Regions from separate parts of the Homo sapiens genome. Here region 2 is linked to region 1. The links are contacts of gene promoters, found by promoter capture Hi-C in blood cells and fetal thymus (Javierre and others, 2016). All regions are on one chromosome and are shown on one strand. The core of a region is centred on a gene start or on the middle of the fragment in contact, and the rest is flanking DNA. Distances in the headings are between cores, read along the strand shown. Region 1 holds the start of GLYR1 (glyoxylate reductase 1 homolog). Region 2 overlaps DNAJA3 (DnaJ heat shock protein family (Hsp40) member A3).

The links. The method cuts DNA at HindIII sites, captures the fragments that hold promoters and counts their contacts. A CHiCAGO score of 5 or more calls a contact.
Region 2: a fragment that was not itself captured here is called in contact with the fragment with the promoter of GLYR1 in region 1 in 4 of 17 cell types (erythroblasts, M2 macrophages, M1 macrophages and 1 more); the score reaches 9.0 in erythroblasts.

The regions. Positions count from the first base shown.
Region 1 is chr16:4,845,485-4,849,503 of GRCh38, reverse strand. It overlaps GLYR1 (glyoxylate reductase 1 homolog), which reads left to right and starts at 2,216. Exons shown (of 16, transcript NM_032569.4): 1 at 2,216-2,276; 2 at 3,294-3,330. The coding sequence starts at 2,239. It overlaps UBN1 (ubinuclein 1), which reads right to left and starts at 2,023. Exons shown (of 18, transcript NM_001079514.3): 1 at 1,294-2,023. RefSeq lists silencers at 1,343-1,432, 1,443-2,162 and enhancers at 1,215-2,057, 2,353-2,412, 2,713-2,772. The HindIII fragment of the contact is 6,120 bases long and covers 1-3,173 here.
Region 2 is chr16:4,443,460-4,447,478 of GRCh38, reverse strand. DNAJA3 (DnaJ heat shock protein family (Hsp40) member A3) reads right to left here. Exons shown (of 12, transcript NM_005147.6): 7 at 2,751-2,815; 8 at 465-593. Among named protein-coding and RNA genes, the nearest start is that of DNAJA3, 20 kb to the right of the region's middle. The HindIII fragment of the contact is 654 bases long and covers 2,014-2,667 here.

The DNA of each region.
Region 1 (4,019 bases), core at 967-3,466:
AATTTTTTCTTACTATATATATATATATCTCCTTCTAAACATTGTATTTTCAAACTGGTTATTGATGAAACAGAAAAACTAAATTGTGCATTCCAACTTATAATGAGTACCCTTCCTGAATTCTTATTTTAATGGGTTTTTTGGTTTTTGTTTTTGTTTTCAAAATAGGCAGACCTATCATCCACGGAAATGAGAATTCTGTCTTCCCTTTTCCAAAAATTGCATTTCTTATTTTTGTTTCCTGTCTTACTGCACTGGCTAGAACTTTCAGGTTTTAGGCAATATATTCTTATTATCTAATAGTGGTAGAAATGTACCATGTTTCTGATGTTAAGGGGAATGCCTCTAGGTTTTGGTGCAATGTTCATTTGAGATTTTTTTTTCTTTTTTCTTTTTGGCGGGGGGACGAGTCTCGCTCGCTCTGTCGCCTAGCTGGAGTGCAGTGACATAATCTCGGCTCACGGCAACCTCCGCTTCCCGGGTTAAGCGATTCTCCTGCCTCAGCCTCCCAAGTAGCTGGGACTACAGGCATGCGCCACCACGCCCGGCTAATTTTGTATTTTTAGTAGAGTACTGGGTTTGACCGTGTTGGCCAGGCTGGTCTCGAACTCCTGATCTCAGGTGGTCCACCCGCCTCGGCATCCCAAAATGCTGGGATTACAGGCTTATACCACCCTGCCCGGCCAAGATTCATGTTTTTATTTAAGTTATTAAAATCTCATTCAATTCCTCACAAATTCAGAATTTTTAAACAGGAACTTATGTTAAATTTTTATCAAATTATTCCCTGGAATCTTAAATACGCTTTAAAGATCACTTTGTCTTAAAAATACACACGCAGTAAATGACAGTCCGTGCAGCTAATTCTTGGTACTTCAGGGAAACTGATCTCCCAAGAAAAATCAGGCTGCGGGACGACCCAGTACGCTAAACACCGACTTGCAACCGAAATCTCTAACCACCACAATGCCTTGGGGAAATGCGTGTCGACTCGCCACCTTTGCCAGCTGGCAGTGACTCAACAAGAGCCCGACACCAAGTCTAAGTCAATCCTTAACACTGTGGAGTCTGTGATCGGGACTGGGATCTTTTGCAAAATTGTGATTCTACCTGGTCTGCTGAAGTTTGGGCCGACGCTGCGCTCAACTGCAGTTAACACTTCCCAGTTCATGGTTCAGTTTTAAAGTGTCCAAACTACGCCCGGCATCTGTCTTCCTGTTGTCACAACTTTTTCAAAAGTGCAAAACTAGGGCAAGGCTAACGAGAGAGCCCGGACCCGACAACGACACGCACCTTTGTCCCCAGCGCCGACGCGGGCCGCAGACGTCCCCCCGCGGCGGTCCTCATGCCGGTCCCCGGGCGGCGGCGCAGCTAGCGGTCGGCTGCTAAGCCGTGGCTCCCAGCGGGCGGGCGGCCCGCGCCTCGGCCCATGGCCGGGTCCCCGAGCCCAGGGGAGCCTGGTGTGCCGCGCCGCGCGCCGGCCCAGGAGGAAGCGAAGAAATGCCAACTCGACGTCCGCGCAGCCACTCCGGGGACACCAGGGGGTCGGGGGAGCAGCCTCCGGTCGCCCCAGGAGAACTTGCGGCGCGGGACCCCGCGCTCAGACGGCGCCTCCGAAAGCGGCCGTCGGGAGGAGCGCTCCAAAGAACACGGGCGGCGGGAGCGGACGGGCGCGGACACCGGGGCCTCCCGGCCTGCGGCCAAGCAGAGTTGCCGGGCGCGGGAGCCCAGACCCGGCGGAGGCTGAGTTCCAGGCCGCGCCGAGCTCCGTCAGGGTAGCTCACTGGCGCTGCGACGGGGCCGACCAGCGCCTCGGGCTCGGGAATGGCCCCGGGGCCCGCGCCGGACCAACGGGCGTAACGGAAGCGCCGAGAGGGGAGGGGCGCGGAGTCCAAGACCCGGGGGCGGGGCGAGCCGCGAGGCCGGCTCCCTCTCGCGCTCAGCCGGTCGCACCGTCGCCGCCGCCGCCGCCTCAGACCGCGGGCGCTTCGTTGTCACGAGCCGAAGGGAGGGGGAAGGAGCCGGGAGTCTCTGCGCTCCGGCGCGCGGAGACCGCGGCGCTCGCGTCACGTGCCCCTCGGTCGACCAATGATCCCCGGCGGGCGCGGTGACGTCAGAGTAGCGGCGTGGCCAGTGACAGCCGGCCCCCGTCACGTGGTCGGGCCCACTCCAATGGGCGGCGCCGGGGCGACTTGCTGTTCCCGGCGGCCCGTGCGTCGGCGGTGGTTGGGTGGTAAGATGGCGGCTGTGAGTCTGCGGCTCGGCGACTTGGTGTGGTGAGTCCGAGCGGCCGGGCCAACCGAGACGCGCCGGGGAGCTACCCGCCTGGGCGCGGGGTTCGCTGCCGGCCCTGGAGCTGCCTTTTTATGCGCTCCAGGTCGCGGAGAGAGGGGAAGAGAAGGTGCCGGCGCTTGCGAGCGGCGCCAGGCGGAAGGGGCAGTCCAGTCCCGGGGGACCGAGGCCGAGGGTGGCCACGTCGGGCACCGGCTTTGATCCCCGAGGCCGGCCGGGTGGGGTCTGCACTCGGGGCCCAGATACTGGCGGCCCCCGTGAAGGGAGCCGCCGGTGCCGCGAGGCTTCCCCGGACGACCGGTCCCCGGGGTCTTGTTGGGGCTTCCCAGAAAGCAGAAGCGCCGGGGACCGGACCTGCGAGATCTGGCCGGTGCCATTCGGTCAAAGCCCAGGTTGCGATGCAGCCGACCTGTGCGGCCGGCTCAGCCGGGGTTGTCTAAACCGGACTGCTGGCGTTGCCCCGCGAAGAAACGGCGGGGGGACTTCTCCTTTACAACCGATGGCTTGGCAGTGACCAGTGCACGCTTGGGTGCCTCCCGCGGTCTGCTTCTGTGTCCCAGACAACCGCCCGAACCAAGACTTTGTCGCCGCCTCCCTCGAGCTGCGTAGCTTGTTTCTCCACCCAGAGGAAGGCTTCCATTAGCATTTGTCAAAGCCAGGCAGGTCTCCTGTTGAATTAAACCAGACTTAGGGAGGGAAAGTCTGTGTTTACAGAGGAAGCTGTCCTCCCACCCCCGTCATTAAGAAGCTCTAGACAAGTGACTTTTGACAGTTGTGTTGTTCTGTATTCCTTGTCAACAGAAGAATGGATATGCGTTGTGCACATAAGTATACAATTTTGCATTTTACTTCTGAGGGTGTTGGGCCCAGCTATGAAAGCTTTTGTTTCGGCATTTGAGGATGCCAGCAGAGATTTAGGAAAATAAATTGCGTATTGAGTGGGTTGAAGGAGATGGACTGGCTTTTGCAGGGCAAGTGTTGACTCTTTGTGTTTTCTCTAGGGGGAAACTCGGCCGATATCCTCCTTGGCCAGGAAAGGTGAGTGTCTTGCTACTAAAGGAAGAGATCTGAAGTTGGGTTTGAAGAGGTGGAGAATGTAAGATGCATTCCTCTCAGTTTCTAGTATTGAGTTAAATTGGGCTCATTCAGATGGCACTTAGAATTTTTTTTCCCCTAGTATCGGTTATTTTTTAAAAGGCAATGCAGTATACACCAGATCATTAAATCTTCTCTAAACCCTTATTTCTGGATTTAGAGGAGGTTTATGAAGTTTCTTTTTTAACCCCGGAAATAATTCTAGTCTGAATTTAGCTTTATGCTTAAATGTAACAAAAGGAGAAGAAAATATAAATTATCCAGGAAGAAAGTCTAAATGTAGGTTAGTGAAAAGCCAAAGTATTTTTGTCCCAACTAAGTTTAAATCTTCTTTCCATGTTACCATATGTGCTACTCCAGTGCCTCTTTGCAGAAGTTGGCATTCCAGATTTTGCATGAGGTGATCCATCATTGCTTTCCAAATGTTGTGTTTTTATATTCTTGCTTGGAGCCCGGGAGGTGTCTTTAGATGGTCTCTTTGCAATATGGTGTTTTCTGTGCCTCGGTTGTCCTTTGTTTTCACTATGTCCTGTGTCAACCCTTCCTGCACAGGAAGTATTTCAAAGAGTGTCGTCTGCATTTTTTCAGTAATAATGGGGTCACATTGGAGCAGGGGTGGGGTGGTGGGGGGC
Region 2 (4,019 bases), core at 1,091-3,590, 400 kb after region 1:
CAGAGAATGATGTGGCCTGGAGGTGGGAAGAGCTGGAGGGGCAGGTCAAGAGAGAGGTGGGGGACAGGTGCTGGCAGCACACAGGCAGCCATCACTGTGGCAAAAGGGATATGCACCGCCCGAGTCTTCTGCTCTTGGAGCCAGACACTGGACAGAAGCAAGTGCAGAGAGCACAACCCAGGGTGAACCCTTCTGTGTCCTGAATGCGCCCAGTTCCCAGGCCCCGCTAACCAGTGTGGGAGTGATGCCAGCCAGGAACTGCTTCCCATGCGATTATAGACTCAAGGCCTGTGGCTTGTGGTCCACACTCAAGGAGCAGCCTAAAATTCCTCATGTCCTCCCCTGTGAGTGCCCCCCCACATGCTGGTCACTCATGGGTTCCAGGCCACTGGTCAGTTCTTTTCCATTTCAGAAAAAGAGCAATAAAGTACAGGGGTGACAAAGGTGTTCTCACACCCTCTTACCGTCACGTTGATCGTCTCGTACAGGCCCTGGGCTCTGGCTGTACCCCCAAGAAGAGCCTGAGCTATAGAAATAAAGAGGTCGGAGTGGATGTCTGCGCCGTCCCTCCGGAACACAGGGCTTTTCTGCACCTAAGGCCAAACATGACAGATGCATGTGAAGATAAGTCCACTGCAGACTAAACACCAGCTGCATGCCTGGCCAGGCCCAAGCTCAGACCTGACAAACTACACACCCCTTCCATACATAAAGTGCAGTGTTGAGGGAAAGAACTGTCCTTCCAACAAGGAGACACCATCCCAGGCCCAGGAATGACATGTTCTACATATTTCAACACTGCAATGTTCTACACACTTGAAATGCCGAAATGGAAGCGTGCCTGGATTTCCTCAGTCTCAGATCAAGCCATTCAATCGTGAAGGGAAACAAAAATGTAAAACTGGCTTTTGATTTTTTTTTTTTAATCTTACTTTAGCCAGGCACAGTGGCACACACCTGTAATCCCAGCACTTTGGGAGGCCAAGGTGAGTGGATCACCTGAGGTCAGGAGTTTGAGACCAGACTGACCAACATGGTGAAACCTTGTCTCTACTAAAAATACAAAAATTAACCAGGTGTGGTGGCGGGCCCCTGTAATCCCAGCTACTCAGGAGGCTGAGGCAGAAGATCCACTTGAACCTGGGAGATGAAGTTTGCACTGAACAGAGATCACACCACTGCACTCCAGCCTGAGCAACAGAGCGAGACTCCACCTCAAAAAAAAAAAAAAAAAAATCTTACTTTATTAGAAAGTATAGGCCAGCCGTGGTGGCTCACGCTTGTAATCCCAGCACTTTGGAAGGCTAAGGTGGGTGGATCACCTGAGGTCAGGAATTCGAGACCAGCCTGCCAACATGGTGAAACCCCATCTCTACTAAAAATACAAAAATTACCTGGGTGTAGTGGCGCATGCCTGTAGTCCCAGCTACTCAGGAGGCTGAGGCAAGAGAATCGCTTGAACCTGGGAGGTGGAGGTTGCAGTGAGCTGAGATCATGCCACTGCACTCCAGACTGGGCAACAGAGCAAGACTCTCTTTCCAGAAAAAAAAAAGAAAAAAAAGGGAAGAGTAAATAATATAACAAGCATGTCATACCCACAACCCAGTGGAGGTAACAAAATATCACAGGCCGGGCGCAGTGGCTCATACCTGTAATCCCAGCACTTTGGGAGGCCAAGGTGGGTGGATCATTTGAGCCCTGGGGTTTGAGACCACCCTGGGCAACATGGTGAAACCTCATCTTTACTAAAGATACAAAAGTCAGCCGGGCCTGGTGGCGTGTGCCTGTAGTCCCAGCTACTCAGGAGGCTGAGGTGGGAGGATCACCTGAGCCCAGGGAGTCTGAGGCTACAGTGAGCCAAGACTGCCCCACTGCATTTCATCCTAGGCAACAAAGCAATACCCCACCTCAAAAAATAAAGTAAAATAAAATAAAACATCATAAACACCGGTGAGTCTTGCCCTCCTCAGCTAACCACAACCCTGACTTTAACATTTATCATTCCTACAAGCTTCTACTTACTATGTATTTCCGTGTCCCTAAATAATACATAATGCCATCTCACAGGTTTTAAAACTTTACACAGATGGTCTCTGAGGCCCTACAGCCACTGGCAAGCTGCCTTCCATCCCTGCTGTCTGTACCTGCAACGCCTGGAGCATCCCTTGAGTTCAGCTCTCATTCTTTCCTTCCGACTGCCCTGCAGCAGCCTCTGACCACCACGGCTCACTGAGCCATTCTCTTGTTGGAGGAAGGCAGTGTCTTGCTACCATGGACAGGACTCTTGTGCACCCCTTTGTACCTATCGCCTGCTAGGCTTGTGTGGGTTTTTCTCAGGTGTACACATAGGAGGGCAATTGCCAGTAGAAGGCATTGTCTTCATTAATGTTTCCACCATCTCAGAAAACCAAGGTTTGCCCCTGTATACAGTATGTAAAATTGTAACTTTCACACTCACTGCCTCATCAACAATCTTATCATAAAAACACAAGATGTTTCCTGTATTTTTATGTGACCTGTATTTCTAACTTGTTAGCATGTTGAAGAAGTTGTCTTCTCTCCACACAAGGCACAGAATCTTGAAGGTAACAAACAGCTAAAAACCACATCTAGGTGGCCACTGTGCCCCTCAGAAACATGAATGGCGAGACATGTTCCTGTGAAGCTTTGATTACATGGGAGCAGCCTCAGCCACACCCACCCGAAGAGAGGAAAGGCCCAACAGAAGCTGTGCGGGGCAGGGCACCTACCCTGAACGTAATGAAAATTTCCCTTTTTCCCACAGGCATCCTCACGGTCTGGCCATCCTCGACTCCTACAAGGGACATTAGAAAGGGAGAAGTTAGGCAGGACGCGGTGGCTCACGCCTGTAATCCCAGCACTTTGGGAGGCCGAGGCGGGCAGATCATGACGTCAAGAGATCGAGACCATCCTGGCCAACATGGTGAAACCTGGTCTCTACTAAAAATTAACTGGGCGTGGTGGCACACGCCTGTAGTCCCAGCTACTCAGGAGGCTGAGGAAAGAGAATCGCTTGAACCCAGGAGGCGGAGGTTGCAGTGAGCCGAGATCACTCCACTACACGCCAGCCTGGCAACAGAGCGAGACTCCGTCTTAAAAAAAAAAAAAAAAAGAAAAGAAAAAGAAAAAAAAGAAAGGGAGCAGTTATTGTGAGACCTCCCACAGCACTTTCCACCCAAGATCCACTTGTAACCCACAGCTTCTTCCCCACTCCTGTTTCTTATTAACGAGGAACAATGTCATTATCTAAGAGGCACATGGGTAACCTTCCAGAGATGCAACACAGACACCTGATGACTGAGCACCTGCCTCAGGCTTGGTCTAGGCAGTACCTCAGGGAGTTCATGGTCTCACTGGGGTGATGGGTGTTAACCAAACGATAGCACTAATGCATAACTACAAACAGAGACATGCTCTTCAATGGAAATGCTCACAACTCTAGAGAAACAGACATCTAAACAACAGTAAAGCAGGCCACGCGCGGTGGCTCATGACTATAATCTCAGCACTTTGGGAAGCCGAGGCGGGTGGATCACGAGGTCAGGAGATCGAGACCATCCTGGCTAACACGATGAAACCCCGTCTCTACTAAAAATACAAAAAATTAGCTGGGTGTGGTGGCAGGTGCCTGTAGTCCCAGCTCCTTGGGAGGCTGAGGCAGGAGAATGGCATGAGCCTGGGAGGCAGAGCTTGCAGTGGGCCGAGATCGGGCCACTGCGCTCCAGCCTGGGTGACAGAGCGAGACTCCGTCTCAAAAAAGAAAAAAAAAAGAACAGGGAGGAGGGTGTGAGGCTAGCTAGGGAAGGGATACTCAAGCTGGGATCTCCAAGATGAATAAAGTTAACCGAAAAAAGAAAGCAGAAAGTGAGTTTTGGGCAAGGGAACAGTAGACATGGAGTGAGGGGTGGGATCCGTGGGGCTGATGTAGATAGGGTGGCAGCAGGGACAATGATGGCTTCGGTGACTAAGACAGGGGAGAGAGGAGAGGAGCCCGGGGG